Regions from separate parts of the Homo sapiens genome. Here all the other regions are linked to region 4. The links are contacts of gene promoters, found by promoter capture Hi-C in blood cells and fetal thymus (Javierre and others, 2016). All regions are on one chromosome and are shown on one strand. The core of a region is centred on a gene start or on the middle of the fragment in contact, and the rest is flanking DNA. Distances in the headings are between cores, read along the strand shown.

What was found. The method cuts DNA at HindIII sites, captures the fragments that hold promoters and counts their contacts. A CHiCAGO score of 5 or more calls a contact.
Region 1: the fragment with the promoter of TINF2 here is called in contact with a fragment that was not itself captured in region 4 in 1 of 17 cell types (non-activated CD4 T cells); the score reaches 7.1 in non-activated CD4 T cells.
Region 2: the fragment with the promoter of IPO4 here is called in contact with a fragment that was not itself captured in region 4 in 1 of 17 cell types (naive CD8 T cells); the score reaches 5.4 in naive CD8 T cells.
Region 3: a contact is called between the fragment with the promoter of CHMP4A here and a fragment that was not itself captured in region 4, in 2 of 17 cell types (M1 macrophages and M2 macrophages). The highest score is 6.8, in M1 macrophages.
Region 5: the fragment with the promoter of IRF9 here is called in contact with a fragment that was not itself captured in region 4 in 1 of 17 cell types (M0 macrophages); the score reaches 6.3 in M0 macrophages.

The regions. Positions count from the first base shown.
Region 1 is chr14:24,241,373-24,244,072 of GRCh38, forward strand. It overlaps TINF2 (TERF1 interacting nuclear factor 2), which reads right to left and starts at 1,251. Exons shown (of 9, transcript NM_001099274.3): 1 at 769-1,251; 2 at 518-622; 3 at 303-404. The coding sequence starts at 960. RefSeq lists enhancers at 1-19, 680-899, 970-1,229, 1,400-1,699 and a silencer at 1,891-2,185. The HindIII fragment of the contact is 13,864 bases long and covers 1-2,700 here.
Region 2 is chr14:24,187,517-24,190,216 of GRCh38, forward strand. IPO4 (importin 4) reads right to left here and starts at 1,300. Exons shown (of 30, transcript NM_024658.4): 1 at 1,203-1,300; 2 at 1,036-1,122; 3 at 828-907; 4 at 700-741; 5 at 151-280; 6 at 1-63. The coding sequence starts at 1,271. It overlaps TM9SF1 (transmembrane 9 superfamily member 1), which reads right to left. Exons shown (of 6, transcript NM_006405.7): 6 at 1,633-2,292. The coding sequence ends at 1,899. RefSeq lists silencers at 296-506, 752-871. The HindIII fragment of the contact is 6,803 bases long and covers 92-2,700 here.
Region 3 is chr14:24,212,231-24,214,930 of GRCh38, forward strand. CHMP4A (charged multivesicular body protein 4A) reads right to left here and starts at 1,258. Exons shown (of 6, transcript NM_014169.5): 1 at 1,179-1,258. The coding sequence starts at 1,209. It overlaps NEDD8-MDP1 (NEDD8-MDP1 readthrough), which reads right to left. Exons shown (of 7, transcript NM_001199823.3): 5 at 2,262-2,369; 6 at 2,080-2,165; 7 at 1,713-1,921. The coding sequence ends at 1,794. It overlaps MDP1 (magnesium dependent phosphatase 1), which reads right to left. Exons shown (of 6, transcript NM_138476.4): 4 at 2,262-2,369; 5 at 2,080-2,165; 6 at 1,713-1,921. The coding sequence ends at 1,794. RefSeq lists enhancers at 667-786, 741-1,549, 977-1,476, 1,113-1,407, 2,562-2,700. The HindIII fragment of the contact is 5,751 bases long and covers 1-1,950 here.
Region 4 is chr14:23,307,395-23,310,094 of GRCh38, forward strand. It overlaps BCL2L2-PABPN1 (BCL2L2-PABPN1 readthrough), which reads left to right. Exons shown (of 8, transcript NM_001387346.1): 3 at 366-805. The coding sequence starts at 374. BCL2L2 (BCL2 like 2) reads left to right here. Exons shown (of 4, transcript NM_004050.5): 3 at 366-805; 4 at 1,422-2,700. The coding sequence starts at 374. The coding sequence ends at 1,571. Among named protein-coding and RNA genes, the nearest start is that of BCL2L2-PABPN1, 1.9 kb to the left of the region's middle. RefSeq lists an enhancer at 298-1,131. The HindIII fragment of the contact is 1,163 bases long and covers 812-1,974 here.
Region 5 is chr14:24,160,015-24,162,714 of GRCh38, forward strand. It overlaps IRF9 (interferon regulatory factor 9), which reads left to right and starts at 1,251. Exons shown (of 9, transcript NM_006084.5): 1 at 1,251-1,324; 2 at 2,130-2,310. The coding sequence starts at 2,131. RNF31 (ring finger protein 31) reads left to right here. Exons shown (of 21, transcript NM_017999.5): 20 at 225-393; 21 at 506-641. The coding sequence ends at 559. RefSeq lists enhancers at 978-1,367, 2,357-2,416. The HindIII fragment of the contact is 4,395 bases long and covers 1-2,700 here.

The sequences.
Region 1 (2,700 bases), core at 1-2,500, 930 kb after region 4:
TAATCCTGGCCATTTGGGAGGCCGAGGTGGGCGGATCACTTGAGGTCAGGAGTTCGAGACCAGCCTGGCCAACATGGTGAAACCCCATCTCTACTAAAATACAAAAATTAGCTGGGCATTTGTAATCCCAGCTACTCGGGAGGCTGAGGCAGGAGAATCGCTTGAACCCGGGAGGCAGAGGTTGCAGTGAGCCGAGATTGTGCCACTGCACTCCAGCCTGGGCGACAGAGCAAGATTCCTCAAAAAAAAAAAAAAATGGGTTAGAGAAAATAGCCACATAATAGCCTTCAAACCAGTCTCACCTGCAGCTTCGAGGCCAAATCCACAGGAGCCTCTGACAGCTGCTTCACCTGCTGGTAAAAAGTTTCCTGTGCCTCCAAAATCTTCCTCAGATCCTGCTTTGTCTGTTGAGGATACAGAAGACAGAGAAGTTAGCACCAACATCCAGTAGACAGGAGGAGCAACTTTGCTGCACCAAGTGTAACTGGGGTCAGGGCTTGTTCCGGGGATTACTCACAGCCTTGGGATCCCGCACTATAGGTCCAGATTCTGGAAAGTGGTGATTCAGGGCTTTCAGGACTTGGGCCCAAGGCCGGCCCTGCAGGATCAGCTCCACCACCACCTGTACGGTACTGAATTCAGAATCCCCACTTCGGGGCAAGCTGACCTTTTCCAACTAGTCTCATCCCCAAGCTGTGGGCCCTTGTCAGGTGCTCGCATCCCGCCCCTTTCTTTCTTTCCCCTTCCAGGTCCTACTTGCTCCAATACCTTGGCCTTTAGGCCCATACAAAGGCGTTCGTGGTGCCGGTAGCGAACCAAGCCAGGGGCAACAGCGCGCAGAGATCGCAGAAACTCCAGTACTCGCGGAAAATGTTCCACGCAGCGTCCGCGCACAACCTGCCAGCTAGCCGCGGCGGCGAAGCGTAGAGCTGCGGGACCCGCCACCAGGGGCGTAGCCATGGTCGGCGGGCTCCGCCCGGAGGCGGTCCCTCCGGGTTCCTCACCCGGATGGGTGAGGCTTTCCGATCACTCCTAGGGGCGGGGCTTCTGGCAACTCCCTGTCGCTCCGGTCTGTCGGCTCTGGGTACCTCGCGATCTGACTCGGCTCCCTTCCATCGGCCCCCAGAATTCTGGGGGAGGGGGTCTTCTGGCTCGGGCTGGAGGAGCCTGAGTGGAGAAGCTGACCGTCTCCAGTGGCACTGGGTCGCTCAGCTTTAAACGTCGCCGCTGTCTCGAGCCCGAGGGTGCCTCACTTCCGGCTCCGCTACTAGCTTCCCTTGCCCCGGAAAAGGGCGGTAAGAGGGAGCCAATGGGCGGCCACAGAGGGAACCGTGACGGTGCGTCAGAAGGCCACGCCCCAGCGGAGCTGTAGCTGCCCGCTTCCTGCACTCTCTGCCGGCTGACATGAGTTGGCGGCTGAGGCTGTCGTGGCCGCTGAGGCTGTTGTGGCCGTTCGTCTGGGTCCTCCCAGCCTTGCTTTCTTCGCGGAGCCTGCGGAGAAGCCCCGTCACTCCCGTGAGGCTCGACTTCCTAGTCTGTAAAACGAGGATCATGCCACCGCCCTTTCCCACTGTCTTCACCCATCGAAATTTAGTTCTTTAAATTCCAGACCCGAGCCGGCGTCTACAAAGCCTTCCCCTCTGCGCGCGTCGCTTCCAGTAGGAATTCGACTGTTCCTTTTATAAAACAGAAGAGGGCGCCCGCCCTTAAAAAATAAAATACAGGCTGGGCGTGGTGGCTTGTGTCTAATCCCAGCGCTTTGAGAGGCCGAGGCAGGAGGGTCACTTGAGCCCAGGAGCTCCAGACAAGCCTGGGCGACATGGTGAAACCCCTTCTCTGCTAAAAGTACAAAAATTAGCTGGGCGTGGTGGCAGGCGCCTGTAATCCCAGCTACTCGGGAGGCCGAGGCAGGAGAATCGCTTGAACCCAGTAGACGGGAGGTGGCAGTGAGCCGCGATCTTGCCTCTGCATTCCAGCCTGGGCGACAGAGGGAGAATCTCTCTCAAAGAAAAAAAAAAAAAAAAAAAGAGGAAGAAGAAGAAATAGAATACAGGCTGGGGGCACGGTGACTCACACCTGTAATCCCAGCACTCTGAGAGGCCGAGAGGGGAGGATCGATCCGCTTGAGCCCAGGAGTTCCAGACCAGACTGGATCACATGGCGATAACCTGTCTCTACTGAAAATCAAAAAAACTAGCCGGGCGTAGTGGCACGCCTGTAGTCCCAGCTACTCAGGAGGCTGAGTTGGGAGGATTGTTTGAGCCAGGGAGGTTGAGGCTTCAGTGACTGCACTCCAGCCTGAGTGATAGAGTGAGACGGGGTCTCACACACACACACAAATTAGTTTCTTGTTTTAGGATTCTGTTGTGCACTGAACTTGTCAGCCCCCTAATGTAATTGACTGCTCTCCTTGACTGTCTCTTCCACAGGCTTCCTGGTGCCTCTCATTTCCATCAGCAAGCACAGAACCTAACACACAGCTTACACTCCTTAATTGTTGGCTGGATTAGTTGCCTGCCTTGACCACCTTACAAGGATTTAGTGAAACTGCTCCGTCTTTAGCCCATGTCTTCCATTCCCAGAGATAATGGTTCACACATCCTTGTCTCCGCCCCGGATCAGTCTCAGCTGATCCGCACATTCGACTGCCCAAGAAACACCCAGTCCCAAAGTACCCCAAATTGGATATGTGTGAAATTC
Region 2 (2,700 bases), core at 50-2,549, 880 kb after region 4:
GTGGTGGGGTTGGAAGGCCTCGGGCCGGGAGGTCACCACCACACTTAGCAGCAAAAGCCCCATCTGTCCAAGAATAGAGGATGGGAGAGCAAGCTTACAAGGTCTATCCAGCCTCTCAGGCCCTCCCTCCTGCCAACCATGTGATGGTACCTCTCTCTCTGGGCTGTGGGGGCTGTGGGTACTGTGCTGAAGCAGCTGCAAAAGCTGTGGCCAGGCCTCCAAGCCTTCCTTTCGAAAAATGGTGGCTGAGAGCTGGGCCAGGCTGAGGCTCACACAGTGCCTGCAAACAGGAGAGATCTCCTCCAATCACCCTTCAATACCTTCCTCTGCACACAGTGGCCAGGCTCAATGGGGCAGCCAGGACAGAAACTTTCAGGAGGTGTGGGCACAGGGTCTTTGCCAAGTTGGGACACATGAGACAGCAGCTCAGAGGGAGCCCAACAGCACTGTGGGCATGTAATCTGGTAAGTTCAGTCTAACTTAGCCTGAATTTCAGTCTTATTCTTCTGACTTGGGTTTGGCAGATCATCATCACCCTTCCTCAAGAACTTTAGTCTTCAAAACAGCCTTAAAATCCTCACTCCACCTTGCGTCTAGAACTGAAGTCCCTGCCCCACAAGTCCCAGCCTGGAGCCGAAAAGGAAGGCAGAAACCTAGACAAAGTCGTCAAGATCCCGAGAGAAGTGGGTAGGTACTTACTCTGTTTCTCTCTGCAGGGCCGTCAGGATCAGGGACTTGAGGCTGGAACACAGGTGGCAGGTGTTTGGTACCCAGCCTGCCCAAGAAAAGTCTCCGCCTGGCCCCGCCCCACCCCAGGCCCAGCCCACCTCTCCCGTTGCTCCGCCGCCAGCCGTCGCCAGCGGGTGTTCAGTCGTCTGCGGGTCAGCACGGCCGCAAACTGGCGGATCTAGGACGAGGAAGCAAGCACGTGGGGGTCCGGGCAGGAAGGTGCTGAGCGGACCGCAGTGGGCGAATACTGGGGCTTGACCGGTGGCGTACAGTGGGAAGCTCGGAGGGGAGAGTCAGGGGTCTCACCTGGGGGTCGGCCGCCGAGGCTAGCAGGTCGCAGAGAGCCGGCAAAGCGGCGGGGGCCCGAAGAACGATCTGGAGCTGTTCCGTGGCCTGGGGGGAAGCTAGGGGTGAGAGTTGGGCCTTTCCCGCAACCTCCCGCTCGCCCTGGCCCGGTTACGCCTGCTCCGTACCCGACGGATGCGCTCGGTGTCCGGTAGCAGCAGCTCCCGTAGGAGCTGCTCTAGCCCGGCTGACTCCATGGCAGCAACTGAGCCGCCGCTACTGGGCCGAAAAGGGGAGGGGGAGGGACAGCACGTGGAGGTTCTGACACCCACTTCCGGAGGAAAGGGCGTTGCTGCACGCCCCGCGGGTTGCCAAGGTGATTCAATTCGCTTCCCACAAAGAGGTCCGGCTCCTCCACTTCCGTTAGGCTGAGCACCGGCTGAATCGCGGAAACCCGACTCTGGCAATGTAGGTTCCCCACGCCGGGAGTTCCCAAGCTGGGTTGGAGAACTCGAGCTTCGGGCATTCAGTGGCCAGCTCGGCTTTATAAAGGACCGTGCCCTTAACAGCAGGGCTCGAGTTCCTATATCCAGACCAAAACCTCCAACTGCATGAGCCTTTTTCTTAATAAATTTTATTTTGGTAATTGTAAAAAGAAAAATCAGGACCAAAACTAAAGGCAACTTAAAAAGTTCAAATATATAATCCTTATGTGATAGAGATTTATAATTTCCAGGCCCTCTCTGGGGAAGGAATGCCCAAAGGGCAAAAGGGAAGGCAACAATGCCATCACACAATTCAGTCAATCAGAAGAGAAGCTGGTAGGAGAGTTCAACAGGGCATGAAGAAAGGGAGAGAACAGCAATAGTTCTGCCATACAGAACTCAGTCCATCTTGAGGTTAACATAGATATACCGGATGAACTTTAGGGAAGAAAAAAAGGAGATGGTGCCCAGCATGAGGAAGAAGACATAACCAGTGAGTAAGGAGTAGCCGAAGAACTCTACTGTCTGTACTGCCCCAGACATGTTGGAGCGCCGGGCATAATAGAAAACTGAGTAGAGGAAGATGAAGAGGCCGGTGGAGCCAACACTCAGCACAGATCGCCACCACCAGCGGTAATCCTCCCCAGACAACTGGAAGTAGGTGAGTGCAATGGAGATGCAAGCCCCCACACTCAGCAGGATGGCGAAGACAAAGAAGAGGATGCCGTACAAAGTGTACTGCTCCCGACCCCATACTGTGGCAAAGATGTAGTACAGCTCCACAGAGATGGCACTGTGAAGAAAAGAGATGATACACAGCATTAAAGGGCTGTGCACCATCAGCACAGTGGCTGGGCTGAAATCCAGCCCCCACCCTCTCCCATGTTGCTGGGTCATTGTGAAAAGTGAGTTCACTCCACTCTCTGCCCCAGATCTCCTGGCTTCATGGGGATTTTTTGCCTATGATTAGCCGCTCTCACTTCAAGAATATCTTCCCTAATAGATTGAGGGCAGGGATCTTGTCCATTTTATTCCACTTTATTCTTTGCCTGGCACAAAGAGGTATTCAACAAAGTAAATGGGTCATCAAATGGGCTTTAAACCCCACATGATGTCCATAGGCATTAAAGTCAGAAACCAGGAAGGTGAAGGGGGAAATGTCTCCGGAGAGCTTTATAAGTGAGACACTCTCATATCATTC
Region 3 (2,700 bases), core at 8-2,507, 900 kb after region 4:
TCACAGGCATGTGCCACCATGCCTGGCTAATTTTTTGTGTTTTTAGTACAGACAGGCTTTCTCCATGTTGGTCAGGCTGGTGTCGAACTCCCAACCTCAGGTGATCTGCCCGCCTCGGCCTCCCAAAGTGTTTTGATTACAGGCATGAGCCACCGCGCCAGGACTTCTTTTTTTGAGACAGAGTCTCGCTCTGTTGCCCAGGCCAGAGTGCAGTGGCATGATCTCAGCTCATTGCAACCTCCGTCTCCCGGGTTCAAGTGATTCTCCTGCCTCAGCCTCCCTGAGTAGCTGGGACTACAGGCACACACCATCATGCCCACCTAATTTTTTTTTTTTTTTTTGAGAATGGAGTCTCCCTCTGTCACCAAGGCTGGAGTGCATTGGTGCAATCTTGGCTCACTACAACCTCCGCCTCCTGGGTTCAAGCGATTCACCTGTCTCAGCCTCCCCCAGTAGCTGGGACTACAGGCGCGTGCCACCACAACCAGCTAATTTTTTTTTTTTTTTTGTATTTTTAGTAGAGACAAGGTTTCACCATGTTGTCCAGGCTGGTCTCGAACTCTTGACCTCAGGTGATCCACCCACCTCGGCCTCCCAAAGTGCTGGGATTACAGGCGTGAGCCACCGCGCCCGGCCAATTTTTATATTTTTAGTAGAGACGGGGTTTCACCATATTGGCCAGGCTGATCTCAAACTCCTGACCTCATGATCCACCCACGTCGGCCTCCCAAAGTGTTGCGAGTACAGGCGTGAGCCCCCGCGCCGGGCTAAGAAGGCAGTCTTTCTTCTTCACCTTAGATCCCTCTTGCCCAGCACAAAGTATTATAGAACAAGGTTTTGAAAATGGCTGAAGACAGCAGGAAACTCGTCTTCAAGCCTGAACAGTGGGAGTCAGCACGATCGCCACGCCCTCAACTCAAGTCCCCTCCCAGATCTTGAGTTCTTCCCTCTGAGAGTGGGGGAGGACGGCGGACGGGAACAAGGCGCCCCGACATGGTGTGCCTTTTGGCACCGGCGATGAGCCTTGCTCCGCCATCGGCCGCCGGGGTTTTCCAGTCAGCCTGTCTCCTGATTCTCTTCCCCTGCCCGGCGCAGCGGTCCGGCCGAATCTCGCCGGGGTCTCCTCTTCCCCTGCACCAGCCAGCGCCTCCTGGCTGGCCAGTCCCACCCTGGCTCACCCTTCCCGAAGAGCCTGCCGAGACCACTCATCGCGAGCTCGCCTCTCCCGCCTCCGCCCCTCAGCGTCCTCCAGACTTCCGCCTTGCTCCTGGGAGGGTGATGTCTCATCACACAGGGACCAGCCTTGCCCAATCCGTCCTCAGGGCGCCGCCGCGACATCAAGAGGCGCAAACGAGACCACCGGTGTCACGTGACCCAAGCCACCAGCCCCAGACCGACGCGCTCCTCTTAAAGCTGCCACATCATTTTCTATTAAGTAAAAAGACAGTTCTATCTCCACCTGAGTACGTGCTTGTTCTCCGGAAGGAAATGTGCAGTGTGATGGCACCTCAGTGTATGGGGTCAGTGGGAAAACTTCATGCTCTTTACAGAGCTCAGGAAAGTGGGGTGGTATAGGTTCAAGCACTTGGGGTTGCCCTAAGTTTAGATGGCAAACCTGATGCAGTCTAATGTCTCACATTCTGGTCTCTGCACCTCAGGACAACCAACCCCATTTCACAGGCTAGAAAAATAGAAACTCCCCACACTGTGGGTAAAATCTCTTCTGTCACACACAGATGAACTTTAATAAATTACAAATGCACCTGAAAATGCCTTCTTGATTTCCTTTCAGTTTAGGCCTCAAATGGGCTCTCCTCAAGGCTGGACCTCAAAGGCCCAGTTTGGGCCTTCGCAAATGTCTCTAACCCTTGACTTAGAGTTTGAAGATTCATTCCATTCTGGATGTGAATGCAGGTAACACCTAGAAAGATAAGAAGTCACATTTCATTAAGCTTTCAGGGTTCTCCATTATTACTCTGACCTTTGTGAGTGCCACCTATAGGGCAAACTATCCAACCTGTATGTATCTACCTAATCCCTCCTAGGGACCCCAAATGGCTGTTCCTCATCACTCAGTACCCAGTTTGCTGACGTCTACAATATTCCGCCTCTCATCATCAAAGAAGATCATCTGGGAGAAAGGAATTCCAGTCTTCTGCTGCAACCTATTCAAGACAGGGCAGGAGTAACCAAGCTAGTATCTTGGTTTCCCAGGCCTCTCTGATACTTTCTCACCCTGCTCCTCCCTTATCTCCGCATACCTCTCAAAGTGTGTGATCTTGCTGCCTGGATAGATTTCCCGATGAACAAAGTACCTGAAGAGGTCAAAGAGCTCCAGTAGCTGGTTGGCCCCTTCTATCTCACTTGTCCTGCAAAACGGTGTAAAAGATGGGATTAGCAAAGTGAAGGGCCAGGGCTACGTTAACTTATTAAGCAAAGTTAGTAAGTATAACCAGGGAAATCAACTTGCTGTTTTTCCGGGATGGACAGGCATCCTCAGCCTCTGTTTAACTCCATTGCCTTCCTATTTGACACAATTGGTGCTGGGCCAATGTTTTAGCTTTTGTTTTGAGACAGGGTCTAGCTCTGTTGCCCAGACTGGAGTGCAGCGACCCAATCACGGCTCACTGTGGTCACGACCTCCTGGGCTCAAGTGATCCTCCCACCTCAGCCTCCCAAGTAGCTGGGACTACAGGTGCA
Region 4 (2,700 bases), core at 143-2,642:
TTTGGGGAGGTCCTAAGACCCTTCCTCTAGCCAAGAAGGTGTGGACTAAGGAGACCCGGGGGTGGGGGTGTTGTAGGGGTGTCATTGAGCTGACGTTGTCTTATTGTGAAAAGAATCTAAAGTATCCTAAACAGAAAATTTACTTGTTTTACATTTAATTTGGCATATTAGGAATGTAATGGCCAGCCACTCACAGCCTAGTCTCATATCATGACTTAATTCCCTTGTTCTTGCCTCTCCCTGTCCAGTGAGTCCTGAGCATTTCCTCTCTCCTCCTCATCTCACTGGGTTGGTCAAACCAGAAGTGCTCCTTCTGATTCTCTCTTCATATATTCATGCCAGTCTTTCATCCTTGCCTCTTATAGCCGCCCGGATGGCGACCCCAGCCTCGGCCCCAGACACACGGGCTCTGGTGGCAGACTTTGTAGGTTATAAGCTGAGGCAGAAGGGTTATGTCTGTGGAGCTGGCCCCGGGGAGGGCCCAGCAGCTGACCCGCTGCACCAAGCCATGCGGGCAGCTGGAGATGAGTTCGAGACCCGCTTCCGGCGCACCTTCTCTGATCTGGCGGCTCAGCTGCATGTGACCCCAGGCTCAGCCCAACAACGCTTCACCCAGGTCTCCGATGAACTTTTTCAAGGGGGCCCCAACTGGGGCCGCCTTGTAGCCTTCTTTGTCTTTGGGGCTGCACTGTGTGCTGAGAGTGTCAACAAGGAGATGGAACCACTGGTGGGACAAGTGCAGGAGTGGATGGTGGCCTACCTGGAGACGCAGCTGGCTGACTGGATCCACAGCAGTGGGGGCTGGGTAAGAAGCTTCTCAATTGCCGCTCTGCACATCCTTCTGCAAAGCTGGTCTCCAGGGGGAAGATGGGGGCTCTGATTGGAGGCTGAGGCAGCTATGTTGGGAATGAGGTACGGGGCTGAGTCTCCCCGTCTGGATGGAATTAGATTGAGAGATGCCTGGACTCTGCACTCCAGGGCTGCCATGCAGTCAACACTGGATGGGCTCATGGTCCCAAGCAGAGGACAGAATACACACCCAAGGAGTGCCTGCAGGGGAATGTTGTCAGGGACTTTTTACATCTGAGTCATGGCGTGGGAGGTGGGGAGGACCAGGGATGGGTGGTGGTCAGGCAAGCCTTGGCAAAGGATGCTAGTTCTGAGCAGAATTTTTCGCCAAGGAAAGGATGGAATTCACTGGAGGCAGAGTGGGCAGATGAACCAGTCTCTCAGGGTGGGGGTGCACCTGGGGGGATCAGAGGGGCTTGCAGGGAGAAGAGCTTTGGCCAGAGAGGAGCTGGGTATGGGGTAGTGCTCGCAGTGGATGGAACTGGAACTCTTCCTCTCCTCTTCTCTCCACTCTTTCCTCTCCTGATATCCCTTTCTCCTTCTTTCTCTCCTGCTTCCCTTCTCTCCCACAGGCGGAGTTCACAGCTCTATACGGGGACGGGGCCCTGGAGGAGGCGCGGCGTCTGCGGGAGGGGAACTGGGCATCAGTGAGGACAGTGCTGACGGGGGCCGTGGCACTGGGGGCCCTGGTAACTGTAGGGGCCTTTTTTGCTAGCAAGTGAAAGTCCAGGGCCAGGTGGGGCTAGGTGTGGCTGGGGGCCAGGAGAGCAGGAACAGAACAGAGAAATGCCCTTGGAAGAAGTGGAGTTGGTGGATGGGTGGGCATGGAACAGGATGGGCAGAGAAAGGGTAGTGTGTGAGGGAGCTGAGTAGGCCAGGTAGGCGATTGGAAGAGTGAGCAGGACACAGAGGGGAGGGGAATGTTTTGGCAAGTTTAGGGGCACAGGAGATGTAGTCGTTCCAGGGCTGGGGGAGGTGGGAGGGATCACGCCTATAGGTGTGGGCACATGAAACGACCTGGAACTTGCTTCACAGCCCTGAGGAAGGTGGACTTACATAAGCAGCTGTATTCCATTAGATGAGTGGGATTTAGGGAACGCAGAAGGCACATCCCTTTGGAATGGAAGCTTAGGGGTTCTCAGGTGATAGGGAGAGGTGGCTGTTAACAGTGGGCTGCTTGGACACGCGTGTGCATGTGCACGCATGCTGGTGTGCATGCTGGGCTGCCTGGCAAATCTGGTGGTGATGGGATTCCTCAAGGAGAAAACATTCCCTCTTGCAATGGCAAGAACTAGGGGCAGTTCTCTGTCCCTCCTCCCAACCCCTCCTTTCCCCTGCCCTTGTCCTGATGCCTCAAGGCTTAGAGAGAAACATTGTATCCAGACCGAGGGCTCTGCTGCTTCTTTCCAGAAAGTGATTGGCAAGGCTTTGGAGAGAAGAGCAGTTCTGCAGCTGGCCTTGTTCCTTCATCATCCCCCTTCCTTGTGCATTATGCACTTGCTGCTGCCTCCTGGGCTCTGATAGAAGGGCAGGGCTGTTGAGCCTGGATGGGTGGAGGCTTAGGTAGCCGGACCTGCCTGCCACCCTCCTCTCCCACTCAGGCACAATGGTGCCTAAAGTGTTTCCAATCTCTGGGACCTCTGTACCCAAACTGAAACTCTAAATTGGGGCCCTAACTAATTTTCCTTTTGAGGTTGTGGGCATAAGTGCTGATCTAGAATACAGTCTGGGTCCCACACTGTGTCTCAGTGAGACTGTTGATGCCTTGAGATGACCATTTCAGATCTGAATCCCATGGGTGTGAGGGTGATGGGTACTCCAGGACTGGCCTATGCTGTGTTGTGGGCTTTG
Region 5 (2,700 bases), core at 1-2,500, 850 kb after region 4:
GGCATGCCCAGGCAGTAAAATGGGTCCTTGGGAGCAGTAGGTCTTGCAGTGGGTGGGAGGGAGGAGGCTTTCTGGGCAAGGGCATGGGTAGATAGTAGCAGGCAGTGTGGGCACAGGTGGGTTGTTAATCTTGTTCGTCCAGGTGTCTCAGAGTCCAGCTATGTTAGACACACTCAGTTAATATTAGCCAACACAACAAATATTCTGCTCCCTTTTCTCCCCAGGGCACACTACAAAGAGTATCTTGTGAGCCTCATCAATGCCCACTCGCTGGACCCAGCCACCTTGTATGAGGTGGAAGAGCTGGAGACGGCCACTGAGCGCTACCTGCACGTACGCCCCCAGCCTTTGGCTGGAGAGGATCCCCCTGCTTACCAGGCCCGCTTGTTACAGGTATAGCCTCCACCCAGCCTCATCTCTTAACCCACCCTACAGAAGTCACCTGGTGCTGACTGTGTCTGAGCTCCAGGCTTCCAATATCATTACCTTCTCTCTCCTTCTGCAGAAGCTGACAGAAGAGGTACCCTTGGGACAGAGTATCCCCCGCAGGCGGAAGTAGCTGAGGGCAAGGGTCCCGATGAGGGTCCCATGGCCTGCTCCCTCAGGAACAGCTCCAGCACCAATAAAGAGGCATCTTACCACCCAGGCTTCTTGGTGGTCCTTCTTCCTGGTGCCACCATCTAGGGGCACCAGGGAAAGAGCGGGGTGAACAGAGCTTTGCTGAAAAGGGCCCCCTGCAACCTAGTGCCTGACCCTCCCTGGACTCAGGACCAGGAAGGAGTTGACACCCTGGATGGTCAAGGGAGGCCCTCCCCATCCAGCAGCCTGGCCTGGGCTTCCTCCCTCCCTGCCTCCTTTTTTCCTTTCATAGAATTTGACTGGTATTTGAAGTCACCCAATATGTATCAGGTGGGCACTGTGGGGGAATGCAGATGCACAGGTGTACACAGCAGTCCAGAGGTCCCAGGCCTGACTCCAGGAAACTGGCCTCCCTGGGGAAGCCACGGTGTCACCCAGAGGTCAGATAGAAGCAAGAGTATCTGAGGGAGGCAGGGGAATGAGCCAGGCTGGAGCTGAGCCAGCAGGGCAGGGCCCCCCTGCTGCGACAGTGGCATCCTGATAGTGAGATGCTCAGATGCTGCTGCCCTCTAGTGGCCGCCAGTTCCCTGCAACTCAGACCACGTGATTTCTGGGAAAAGGCCCTCCCTGGAGGAGAACTGAAACTTAGGGTGGGGACTGTAGAAAGGGGCGGAGAGATCAGCCGCCCAGCCAGGAGTTAAGCTGAGGTCGTCTGAGCCCTGCGACAGCCTGGACAGCAACTCAGGTAAGATCAGCCAAGGATGGGAGTCAGCCTGGGATCTAGGGCTAGAAAGTCCAGCCAGATTGAGGGCAGGGGGTCCTAGGGGTCGCTCTGTTAGACTGAGGGATAGACAGAAGATCTCTTAAGTCAGGAAGTGGGAGATTCAGCCTGAGAGTGAGACTGACAAGGGCCAGCTCCCCAGACCCTTGTAGGCAAAGGTCAGGAGGACCTACTGCTGGATTGTTCAAGGAAGAAGGCTCCTGGCCCCAGCCTCAGTGGACCATTTGTTTCCTTGCCATCTGGCCCTGCCCACTTCTGCTGCAGCTCCAACCCCACCCCTACTTCCTGCCCCACCTACTCCTGGGGCCGGCAGGGGGTGGGGGTCAGGCTAGGTTGTGTAGGCTGTGGGGCGGTGGGTGAAGAGCCTGATGGATCTCAGCAGAACCTACCTCTGCTGATGCTCGGGAATCTAGACAGGGCCTGTCACCAGGAACGATCACCAAAGGAATTCTTTTGTAAACAATACATCTCTGAAAAGTCCTAAAATTAAGACCAGTGCCCAAGGTTTCCTTCCAGGTATCACAGCTTAGAGTGCTAAAAACAATGTTTTGGGGGGTTTTGTTGTTGTTGTTGTTGTTTGTCACTGCTAGTGATGGCAGAAAGGAAACAATTCTGTCCCATAGAGTGTTGAAATGTGTTTGGAGCTAAAAGAAGATGGATGGGATCTCTGGGACCTGTTGCCAGAATCTAGTCTCAATGGCCAGGGTCTCAGGAGATGTTCCCTCCCAAAGTGTCAGTTCTGATGCATCCTGCTCCTATTATCCCCCAGGATGGCATCAGGCAGGGCACGCTGCACCCGAAAACTCCGGAACTGGGTGGTGGAGCAAGTGGAGAGTGGGCAGTTTCCCGGAGTGTGCTGGGATGATACAGCTAAGACCATGTTCCGGATTCCCTGGAAACATGCAGGCAAGCAGGACTTCCGGGAGGACCAGGATGCTGCCTTCTTCAAGGTGAAAGGGCCTGGAAACCACTGTTCCTCTGTGTGTGGGATGGTGTATACACACTGGTACACTCATCCTCGAGCACTTGCGTCTGCCTGGGTTTCAGATAAGGGACAGATTGGAGAGGAAAACTAGCTGCATCATTTGCAGAGTCCAGTACAAAATGAAAATGTGGAGGCCTTGTTCAAAAATTTTAGGGATATTGGCCAGGCACGGTGGCTCACGCCTGTAATCCCAGCACTTCGGGAGGCCAAGGTGGGTGGATCACGAGGTCAAGAGATCAAGACCAGCCTGGCCAACATGGTGAAACCCTGTCTCTACTAAAAATACAAAACTTAGCTGGGCCTAGCGGTGCATGCCTGTAGTCCCAGCTACTCGGGAGACTGAGGCAGGAGAATC